Regions from separate parts of the Homo sapiens genome. Here all the other regions are linked to region 3. Evidence: promoter capture Hi-C in human tissues and cell types (Jung and others, 2019). All regions are on one chromosome and are shown on one strand. Each heading gives the region's core, a stretch centred on a gene start or on the middle of the fragment in contact. The rest is flanking DNA. Distances are from core to core; before and after follow the strand shown. Region 1 overlaps RAB8B (RAB8B, member RAS oncogene family). Region 2 overlaps LOC101928972 (a long non-coding RNA gene). Region 3 holds the start of TPM1 (tropomyosin 1). Region 4 overlaps TLN2 (talin 2).

The links. The method cuts DNA at HindIII sites, captures the fragments that hold promoters and counts their contacts. A contact is called where the count stands out against the background at its distance.
Region 1: a fragment that was not itself captured here is called in contact with the fragment with the promoter of TPM1 in region 3 in 1 of the 25 tissues and cell types used here (dorsolateral prefrontal cortex).
Region 2: a fragment that was not itself captured here is called in contact with the fragment with the promoter of TPM1 in region 3 in 1 of the 25 tissues and cell types used here (lymphoblastoid cells).
Region 4: a fragment that was not itself captured here is called in contact with the fragment with the promoter of TPM1 in region 3 in 5 of the 25 tissues and cell types used here (bladder, dorsolateral prefrontal cortex, heart right ventricle and 2 more).

What each region holds. Positions count from the first base shown.
Region 1 is chr15:63,263,585-63,266,284 of GRCh38, forward strand. It overlaps RAB8B (RAB8B, member RAS oncogene family), which reads left to right. Exons shown (of 8, transcript NM_016530.3): 8 at 1-2,700. The coding sequence ends at 35. Among named protein-coding and RNA genes, the nearest start is that of APH1B, 13 kb to the right of the region's middle. The HindIII fragment of the contact is 4,184 bases long and covers 1-2,700 here.
Region 2 is chr15:63,177,277-63,179,976 of GRCh38, forward strand. LOC101928972 (a long non-coding RNA gene) reads right to left here. Exons shown (of 4, transcript XR_932355.4): 4 at 791-1,039. Among named protein-coding and RNA genes, the nearest start is that of RAB8B, 11 kb to the right of the region's middle. The HindIII fragment of the contact is 8,403 bases long and covers 1-2,700 here.
Region 3 is chr15:63,041,297-63,043,996 of GRCh38, forward strand. TPM1 (tropomyosin 1) reads left to right here and starts at 1,451. Exons shown (of 10, transcript NM_001018005.2): 1 at 1,451-1,647. The coding sequence starts at 1,534. RefSeq lists enhancers at 395-1,309, 2,223-2,700. The HindIII fragment of the contact is 3,976 bases long and covers 1-2,513 here.
Region 4 is chr15:62,830,002-62,832,701 of GRCh38, forward strand. All of the region lies in intron 54 of TLN2 (talin 2), which reads left to right. LOC105370854 (a long non-coding RNA gene) reads right to left here. Exons shown (of 7, transcript XR_007064671.1): 7 at 1-2,700. Among named protein-coding and RNA genes, the nearest start is that of MIR190A, 7.4 kb to the left of the region's middle. The HindIII fragment of the contact is 3,371 bases long and covers 1-2,700 here.

The DNA of each region.
Region 1 (2,700 bases), core at 106-2,605, 220 kb after region 3:
AGAAGACCAGTTTCTTTCGTTGCTCGCTACTTTGATGAACTCTTTCTGAGAGACTGCAGCACACCTAGAGGGCCCTTTCCTGCTTCTCTGAAAGCACAGGTCACCCAGCCTCAGAATCACACCTCCCGGCTGCTGCTGAGAGCACCACTGAACTTAGACCTCTCAACACAGTATGCCAAGTGGATTCCAGCCTCATGGCCTAGCAAAAGAACAGACTCCCTTTTTCAAACATGGAAGCAATGAAGTGGAGACACATGCAGGACCTAACTCGTTTTTTCCTTGTTTTATTACCTGTTGCAGAAGCGGTTATCTTTCTTTTTTACTTTGCACATCAGTGTTAGCCTTTCCCTATTTCAGCACAATCTTAGACTCATATTTGCACACTTTTGTGTCGTGAAGTTCTAGACAAATTTGTACATGTGGCAATGTTAAAAGAGCATTTACAGCAGAGGTTAATATACTAAAATTAAAGGGTATTTGGTCTGGTTCATATGGTCAAATATTACTGCCTTGGTAGCATTTATTTAAGGGCTTTTTCTTAAATAAGAATCATTAAAGTCATTAAAAAAATTTACTGAAATGCCCATCTTGTCATCAAAGGCCACAATTTCTTTATTTCTTCAGATTAAGAGCTTTGCCTCATCCCCGACCTGTTTTCCAGAGTCTGGGTAGCTGAATGAATCACTTTAAAATGATTACCTCTGCCTAATCTATAGAAACTGCATTTGGAAATCACCATAATCTCATTTTTCCCTGGGGTTTGTATTTGCTATTCTTTCCCATGTTTGACTTAAGTGTAATCACTCTTAAGTAATATTTGAACATTATTATCTGTTTCTATTTGTGAACTTCTTGAGCTGAAATTTTACGTGGGCTGAGAGATATACCATTTAGGGTTTTAGTGCAGCATCTAACTGTGATTCTGTCAATAAGGATATGTAATATATTTTTTCTTAGGTTCACTCCTTAGCTGGCTGGTTTAGTTGTAATACCAAATTCCTACCATAATCCCTGTCTACAAAAGTTAGGTTTAGATTTTAGTTTGCGGAAACCTTCCCTATATAGAGACAGATTAACTTGTTGATATAAATTTAATAGAGCTAGCTCTTGGTAATGGTGAAAATAATGAGTTTTGGTTGGTTTTATTTGGCAGATGTTTTTAGAAATAAAAGTACTTAGACCTAGTGCAGCCTCTAGGAAAAGTCTTGCCTTTTCATTAGAGAAAACAGGACCAAGGTTTCAGTTTTCAAACAGCTGTTGTTGATTGTGTAGAACCCAGTTCCATCTGTTTTGGTTCATTGTTACAGAACTTAGTCCAGTCATTTGGGCTAAAGCCAACCAAAAGCTTAGTTGCCTTTCTCAACAAACACTGGTACTGGTATACTTTTGTAGATGAAACCATCACAAGGTATTTAGTGTTAACTTGTGTGCCAAATTCAGATCACTATGTCGTTGTTGCTCTAGCCTTCAGTGTCATAACACAGGGGGGATAAAACAGAGGGGATGAGGGAAATGAATTCTGTTAATAATTATTCTTCCTGGTATGCCTGTTTTGCTTCACAAAGGCTACTATCATGCTGGATAGATAAGAACAGGAGATGGCAGTGGAAAGGGATTGCTTGTTACCACAGAGAATTCTCTTCAAATTAAGATATGTCATTAGAATGCTTGGACCAGTCAATCTTTTGTACTTATTTGAAAATATAGGAACAATTTAGCAGCTGCAAATATGCCCAAGCTATTTTTAATAGATATACTAAACTTATTGTTGACAAATTTCAGCCTCCTTAATTTTTTTTTTTTTGGTAATTACCTATAGGCTTAAAAGTCATTCGTTGCTGTTCTAGTATAATTAGTAGTTCCGTGATTGAAAGTTTATTGTAATTCTACTATCTTCAAATTAGATACATTTTCAAAAGGAAAAGATAATTTTTTAGAAACATCTTAATATTCACTATTTCCTGAAAAAATCCAAGCAGTTAACGCTTTCTGGATGGTAACAAAGTACCTTCTAAAAGATAAGTGCTATGACACCATGTATGAATGTAATTCTCTTAGTAATTTACCTCTGACTATTTGGTGTCTTAACGCTTTGGTTTATATAATCTCAGGGGTTGTCTGCAAACCAAAACTGACATATTCTGTGGTTAGCTTTTATTACTTTTTTTTTTAACAGAATGCTTTGCTTTGGTTATATTTCTTCTTTCTTCTTTTGTCTTATATGGATTAATAACTAGTCTCCATGAACTTCACTTGAAAGAGCCTGTAAAAGTTAGATGAGTCTAAAAGTGCTCTTTGAAGTAGCAGCAAATTGGGAGTATATGCTCTGTTATATAGAAATAAATTGTCCTTGCTATTTTCTTACATTTAGCTTTGCTAGATTGTATATACATTGAGCTAAGACCTTAGGAAATTCACTTTCTGCATGATAAAATGACCCAATAAATATTCCACTTTGCTTAATAATGTACATACAGTGCATTATTTTTTCTATTTGTAGATGAATTTAATGACAGATAATTGTCTGTTCCCCGCTGAAACTGAAGAAATCTAGTTTTTTTGTGAACATTTTTGTGGTCTTATGGATAAGGTACATGAAGATTTTTGCAGCAGTATTAGTGGTTCAGTGGCTGCACTTTATTAATCAGTGTGTTAATTTTTGACAGTGATTGGACTAGACCTTTTCAAATAGAGTCTGAG
Region 2 (2,700 bases), core at 58-2,557, 140 kb after region 3:
TGACTTAATCCTGTGATGACTCAGAAGGCCCTCCAGGATCACACATTTCTTCAAGGTTGTTATTATGTGTGTTATCTATGGGGATGTTTAAACACAGACCAAGTGGTTGAAAGGGGAATTCTGCAGTGCCTGGAAGATAGGACTTGATAACTACCAGCTCATTCCAATTCTGTGTGTATGTATTGAAGAGTCAAATATAGAAATGATCTCATTTATTATCACCTGAATGAAACATGTTTATGAAACCAAGAGATTACAAGTGAAAACTGTCAAATAGCCTCTGTTAATAAGCCTTAACCAGAATTCATGGTCCTTGACCATGATAAGTCAATTAATCTGAAAAGGTAGGATTCCATTAGTGCTGTGAGTGAATTATTACCATTATTTAATTTTATTAAAACCTGCTCATTAGATTGTAATTTACTAATTAATGCAAACATATTTGTCACTATGTGGCTAATATATGCCAAGCCTGTGTTAGTCAGTCATTAGGGATACAATGTAAATATAATTCATGCCCTCAAGAAATTCAAATAATTTCTCTGTAAAAACACTTCATTGTGCAGATCATTTTTACAGCACTTTAAATGTCAATGTGGGAAATTAGCCTGGGTGTGATATGACCCTCTAACCTAGCCTATAATTCATTCAAAATACAGAACAATACAAAGCAAAAAATGCCAGTTAGTTTAATTACTTGACATTAGTCTTTTTCTCAAAAACACAATATACAGAATGTTCATTCAGAATTCTGGGTAAATATGCTTCTGCACAGATGATTTTAATTTCAGGTTAGTACAACATCTGCCAGTCCCCCAGAGCTTGAGGGTGAAGCAGCTTCCCCAGGTGTGGAGGAGAGAGAGCCATCACAGCGCCCCACCCTCTTCTCTGATCTTTCTGTGGATCTGACAGTGACAGAGGCGGCAGCAGGGAGCCCTGCCCTGGGACTCAGGAGAAGCCTGGGAGCAGGGACGGGTGTTCTCAGTCCAGTCTGTCAGGAATTCTGGGAATGGATGCTGCCGTCTTTCCTCACAGCTTCCTGTAAACATGCTGATTTTCAACTTGATAGTAGGACTTTGCTATTTAGTGTTTTCATATCTAAAACTAAGGGGTTAGGTTTCGAGGGGTGGCTTAGCCTCTAATCTCAGCACTTTGTGAGCCCGAGGCAGGTAGATCACTTCAGGCAAGGAGTCTGAGACCAGCCGAGGCAACATGGTGAAACCCCATCTCTACCAAAAAAATATAAAAATTAGCTGGGCGTGGTGGTGCGGGCCTGTGGTCCCAGCTGAGGTGGAAGGATACCTTGAGCCGAGGTGAGAGGATACCTTGAGCCGACGTGAGAGGATACCTTGAGCCCAGGTGAGAGGATACCTTGAGCCGAGGTGAGAGGATACCTTGAGCCTGGGAGGTAGAGGTTGCAGTGAGCCAAGATCATGCCACTGCACTCCAAGCTGGGTGACAGAGAGAGACCCTGTCTCAAAATAAATAAATTTAAAAAAAATAAAAATAAAAATAAGGGCCGAGTGCGGTGGCTCTCACGCCTGTAATACCAGCACTTTGGGAGGCCAAGGCGGGTGGATCACCTGAAGTCAGGAGTTCAAGACCAGCCTGGCCAATATGGTGAAACCCATCTCTACTAAAAATACAAAAAATTAGCCAGGTGTGGTGGCGGGCGCCTGTAGTCCCAGCTACTCGGGAGGCTCAGGCAGGAGAATCGCCGGAACCCAGGAGGCAGAGGCTGCAGTGAGCCGAGATGGCGCCACTGCACTCCAGCCTGGGCGATAGAGTGAGACTCTGTCTCAAAAAAACAAAAACAAAAAACGAACAAACAAGCAAAAAAAAGGGTTTGGATTAAATGAGTTTCCTAACATACAGTCTGAGGACACAAGCCCCATAAGATGCGCCATCAGAATGGAGTGTGGGAAAAGCCGTGTGCCACACCTTGCGGTGGAGACTCACAGCTGCGCCTCTGCATACTGACGTCAGAGAAGCCGCACCATCTAAACAACTGATAGCAGCATTTCTCAAAAAGCTTAGCCCTGAAATCTTTTCTTCTTGTATCACCTGCTAGCATCTGCTGACTCACTTAGCGTTCTGAGGTACACATTTTGAGAAACCCTGGAATACATCTCTATAGTCATTGGATTTTTGTTTTGTTTTTTCTCGAGATGGAGTTTCGCCCTGTCACCAGGCTGGAGTGCAGTGGCGCAATCTCGGCTCACTGCAACCTCTGCCTCTGGGTTCAAGCAATTCTGCTGCCTCAGCCTCCTGACTAGCTGGGATTACAGGCACCCGCCACCACGCCCGGCTAATTTTTGTATTTTTAGTAGAGACGGGGTTTCTCCCCGTTGGCCAGGCTGGTGTCGAACTCCTGACCTCGTGATCTGCCCACCTCAGCCTCCCGAAGTGCTGGGATTACAGGTGTGAGCCACCGCACCCGGCCTAGACATTGGTTTTTATGGCCTCTTTTTTTGAGACGGAGTCTCGCTCTGTTGCCAGGCTGGAGTGCTGTGGCGTGATATCAGCTCACTGCAACTTCCAACTCCCTGGTTCAAGCGATTCTCCTGCCTCAGCCTCCCGAGTAGCCGGGATTACAGGCACGCACCATCACGCCCAGCTAATTTTTGTATTTTTAGTAGAGACGGAGTTTCACCATGTTGGCCTGGATGGTCTCAATCTCCTGACCTCGTGATCCGCCTG
Region 3 (2,700 bases), core at 201-2,700:
ATTTGATCATTCTCTGAAGGACTTACAAGTTGTTTGGCCTGCCTAATCTGCTCAGATACCGTCCGGGGAATATTTGGTAACCATGCAGTACAGACTGTGAATTATTCTGTGGGGACTATTAACAAGACCCTCACCAACCCTGCCTCAGCTGATCTCAGGGCTTGGGGGCAGCCCCCTCTCCTCCCCTCCCACTGAAGCTCTGAAAAAAAGCAGCCTTTCCCCCTTGGGAGATGGGAGGAGTAGTTAAAAATAAGAAGTGTTGGGGGAAATCCTCCTCCTTCCAAGCACAGCTCACACGGCAGAGCCTCCTCAGAGTTGCGGCTGCGGATGCAATGACTTAGCCAGGTTAACGCCGATCCCATGTTTTCCGAAACCTGGCACCTAAGCATCTAACATGGAAGGCCGACTCCCTAAAATCAGTGCAAGAAAAATGATAACAAGTTATATCTGGAGGGACCTCGGGGATTATCTACCCGCTGGATTTAAAGTTGAGGAAGCCGCGGGCAGCAAACAAGGTCTCACAGTTGCTGGTGGCAGAGTAGAGACCACAGACCAAATTGCCTGAGTCTAAACTCAATGTTCTTTCCCCTTAGACTGCCACCCGCACACACACGCACACATGCACACCTTTTTGGAGGCACTGCACAGCAAGCACAGAAGTACGCCACTGAGTCCTGTGTCCCTAAAGTATTTGACTGTCCCTCCGCTGGGGGAAAGGGCAGGCAGAAAACAAGACTCCGTGTGCTGTCGCTGTGCCGCCCCCTGCCTCTCTGACCCGCGCCCGCAGAGAAAGTCTCAAGAGCCGCCCCAGGCTTTCTCCCACGTTCTCCCTTTCTCTGCTGCAGTTGAGTTTCCAGAGCGTGAGCGCGCAGGATGACACCTGGCTGGCTGAGAGCTGCCGGGGAGGCGCTGGCGGGTGCCGAGAGCGCACTGACCCTGACGCGGGGTGCAGCACGGCTGGGAAGCCCCCGGGCCTTTGGCTAAGCGCGCCGGGGGACGGCACAGGGGGGCGACGCGCATCCACCACCTGGTCCGCGCTCTCCCGGCCTCCGGCAGCTCAGGGCGGGCTCGGTTGGGGACCCTAATGGCTGGGTGCCGGCCCTGGGAGAAGGGCACGCGGAGGGCGGAGGGTTGCGCCTCGGCCCCGGCTCGGCCCCAACGCCCTCTCCCTGGCGCGCAGGTTTAGAAACAGGGCGGCCTCTCCGGCCGCCGCCTCGGCGGCTCGGGTCCCCATATATAGTCATATCCACCGTCAACTGGGAGGCCGGCGGCCGGCAGCGAATGGGCGAGCGGCCCCCGCGGGAGGAGCGGGGAGGGGGCACGGGGCGGAGGGAGGAGAGGAGGAAGGGGGGCAGGAGAAAAAAGCTTTTCCAAAAAAGTATTGGCTGTCTTGAGGAATGCGGTCGCCCCCTTGGGAAAGTACATATCTGGGAGAAGCAGGCGGCTCCGCGCTCGCACTCCCGCTCCTCCGCCCGACCGCGCGCTCGCCCCGCCGCTCCTGCTGCAGCCCCAGGGCCCCTCGCCGCCGCCACCATGGACGCCATCAAGAAGAAGATGCAGATGCTGAAGCTCGACAAGGAGAACGCCTTGGATCGAGCTGAGCAGGCGGAGGCCGACAAGAAGGCGGCGGAAGACAGGAGCAAGCAGGTCTGCGCCTCCCCGGCCCTGCGCCCGCGCCCAGAGCGCCGGGACTCGAGCCTGGCACCCCCGGCTGGATCCCCACCCCGAGGACTCGGGGAGCCACCACCCTACCCCCACCACCACCCAGGGCGGCCAGGGCGCGCGTCTGGAAAGAAGGAAGGGAAACGCAAGAGCCAGGCTTAGTCTAACTTAGTCTGGTCTGAGGACGCTTATTTCCCTTCTCTGGTTCCCATGGCCCGCGAAATCAAGTCCTAGAGGCGCTTTATTCTCAGGACTGGGAATCAGTTTGGGGGAGGGAGGAGGACACCCGGTTCCTGGGGACGTTTGAAGGAAGGGCGAGGGATGGAGAAAGGGGGTCGAGTAACTCAAGTGTTAGAAGTTCGTTGACTTTTGACTGGGGAGAAAGGAACCTTAAACTTGGGGAGGAGAAGGGAGTCCTGGAGTTGTTACCTAAGAACAAAGATGGGGCGGAATGGAGGCTACAGCCCGAAAGCCAGGCCAGCAGTGGCGTTCTTCTGTGTCCCCAAGTAGTGGACTTGAGCCCGCTGAGACCTCGGCAGGAGTCTCGTCCCAGGGCAGGTGGGTGTGCGGGGTGAGCCGCGGAGCGGTTCCAGCTCGGGTAAAGAGGAAGTTACCTCGGGTCCTTTGCACTCCAACTCGGCGGCGCCCCGAGCCCGAGGGGCCCCAGCCAACCCGACGCCCGTGTGTTGTGTGTGTCTAACACCCGGTCCGTGCCGGCCGCCCGCGCCCGCCCGCCGCTGCCCCCAGCTCGAGGAGGACATCGCGGCCAAGGAGAAGTTGCTGCGGGTGTCGGAGGACGAGCGGGACCGGGTGCTGGAGGAGCTGCACAAGGCGGAGGACAGCCTCCTGGCCGCCGAAGAGGCCGCCGCCAAGGTACCCGGGGCGCGCGGCACGGCGTGGCGCACGAATGGCTAACTCTTTCTCTTTCTCTCTCTCCCTCCCTGTCTTTCCCTCTGTCTCTCCCGCTGTCCCTGTCCTTCTGGTTCTGTGCACCCACACCCCTCCCCTTCGGGATCACGCTGCCTGCTGCACCCCCCT
Region 4 (2,700 bases), core at 177-2,676, 210 kb before region 3:
TTATCCTGTTTAATGAAATTGTTTTCTAAAGTTCCTTGCTTTAGCTTGATGCCAGTAGTTATAGAGAAACATAAATAGCCACATGCACAGGATTAGTCATAATCTTTAAAAGATTATTTTAGCGGGTCTTTACATGATCCAATTGTGGAAAGAATGAAACACCCAGAAGCGAGGATTCCGTTATCCCCTTTATAAACCAGAAGGAGAGATCTGACTGACCCTGGTCAGGTCAGTAACATCTCAGCTAAAGAGGGCCTTAAGACACCAACCAGGTGAGCCTCTCTGGTGAGAAGGTGAGAATGAGAGCTCCAGGAGAGGGCCCAGCCTGCAGATTCTTCCCCGGAGTCACTGTGCACCATGTTGTTCTTCTTAGTCTCCCCAGTCTCTCAGCTGCAGTGGGGACTGTTCCATTAACAAATTCTGCATTTTAATTGGGATTCTTTTATTTAGGAAAGTCCTTTGAAGACCAAGCCAATTCTGTTTCCTTCTTGTGATATGGTTAAGTGTGTGTCCTTCCTACCTTCTCCCCTATTCCATTCTGCATGCTAATGGGAGCTGGAACTGATGGGGCACCTGGGTTTTTGACCATGTCTCCTTGGCTTGGAGAGATGCCATTTTCTCTAAGGCTAGAAGTTGTATGGTATGAGGACACGTTAAGTATTGGTGTCTGATTTCAGCAGTAGAGGTAGGGTGGGCAGTGCGTCTTAGTCATAAACCTGGCATACAGGAAAATAGGGACACAGCAGTCAGAAGGCAGGTTTCATCAGGGTACTCTGCCCAAACTGTAGTATCTAACATTAGCCCTCCATCCCTGTGCCATCCCAGTCAGCCTTTCTAGGGAGAATCTTAATACTTTCTTATCAGAGCAAATGTCTCCCAGAGATAAGAACTTCTGCCGTATCTGTTTTAAAGCATAGAGATGTTGTGGGAAGAAAAATAAAAATTCGTCAAAGAACATTACAACAGTTGCCATTACCAGAAAAATCTGTGGGTGTCAAAAATATTTCCAAGTTGAATATCTATTATTACAAGCTTGTGTTTAAAAAAAAAAAAAACTCCAGGCAGCGGAAGATGTGGGAGAGGCTCGTAAAATCAGTTGTGATGAGATGATCCTATCAGATCTACCCCTGCTAAAGACGTAGCACTTAATTTTAAAGAAATTCCATTTTTGAAAATCTTAAAATTTGGGAAATAAAAAGTCTGACAGAGTATTCCACACTGTAAAGTGGACTCGGGCGTGGAACCCATAGAGTAGCTGAGGACACCTGAGGCAAGAGCGTGAGAGACTTCAGGAGCCGCCATGAAGAGCTCCCACAAGCCTCCGTTTCCTCATCTGCAAAATGAGATGAGGAGTTTGGAGTCAAAAATTCTGTGATTTCCCTGGTGCTTTAATCTGTTATGTGCCTGACATTCTTTGGCAGAATGAATTTCCAGAAAAGCTCTTAATCTCACGGTTATTAAAATATACATTATTTATATATTTAATATATATAAATTAGAGCCTACTATAATTTATTTGGGGACTGACTACACAAGAGTTCCTTTTATACGAGAGTGTCTTACAATGGATCATTTCCGTATTTCAGTCACCAAATTCTATACTCCACCAGTCCAAAATGAGTCCAGTAGAACTAAATTCATGTCTGTCCTGAATACTCTTAGAGCAAGACTTGGTCAGCAATAAGAAAGAATGCACAAGTCTGTCTCAGAACTTCTGAAATGCTACCATCATTCAGATCCATTAGAAGTGCATTGAAATTGTATTTTGATAATGTAGGTTATAAAGAAAAAGGATTAGCACCTTTCATGGTTCAAGATGTGGCATTATGAATGGAGAGCTGGAGAAGACTTGTATCCCTCCTGTCTGACGTTTCACATGGGAGCGTTAGCAAGCTGACTTTGAACCTCTGGCACAAACCGTTTCTCACTGATGCCCCAAGGGGTGGCTTTGGCTAGTTAAAGTGCCTCATTTTGGAGTCAGATTTAGGTTTAGATTCTGGTTTAGATGCTTCATGCTGCCACATCACCTTGGCCCAATCATCTACCTTCCTGAGCCTGGGTTTTCTCACTGTAAAAATAAGGATAAAGATAATTCCAATATACGATCTTTTTTTTTTTTTTTGGTGAGAATTAAGTCATTGTATGTAGAAGTGCCTAACAAAATACTTGGTACACAGTAGGCACTCTTAAAAATCTACTACTGTTGGCACAAAGTGTGAATGTCCGTAATGCCACTGAATTGTACACTTAAAATTGGATAAAAGGGTAAGTTTTGTGTTACATATATTTTACCACACATACAGAGAAAAGTATTGCTGGGCCTGGCCATCATCTCTCAATGCCTGAAAGGTACCACCCACATCTTCAACACTGTGTGACCTGAGGGCAGCTTAACCAAATTGACCTAGAGTCACGGAATGTTGTCACACAGGTCTAATCTGACCACCCCCCGGCAAAACTGTGATGCTCCAACCCATGAGCCTGGGACCACAGTCTTTATACTTGTTCCACTTCTCCAAAGCTTCTTTTCAACTTCCTGAGTTGTTTTAGCAGCAAAGGAGATGGTGGTGAATTTAGACCAGAACCCTAATGGTCTGATAACACCTACACAGTGGTGTCCAGTGTTCTTCCCAAGGTGGATCCCGTGCCTCGGGTGTCCAGAGGACAGAACAAGCTCCACCTTGATGTCGTGTTGCCCTG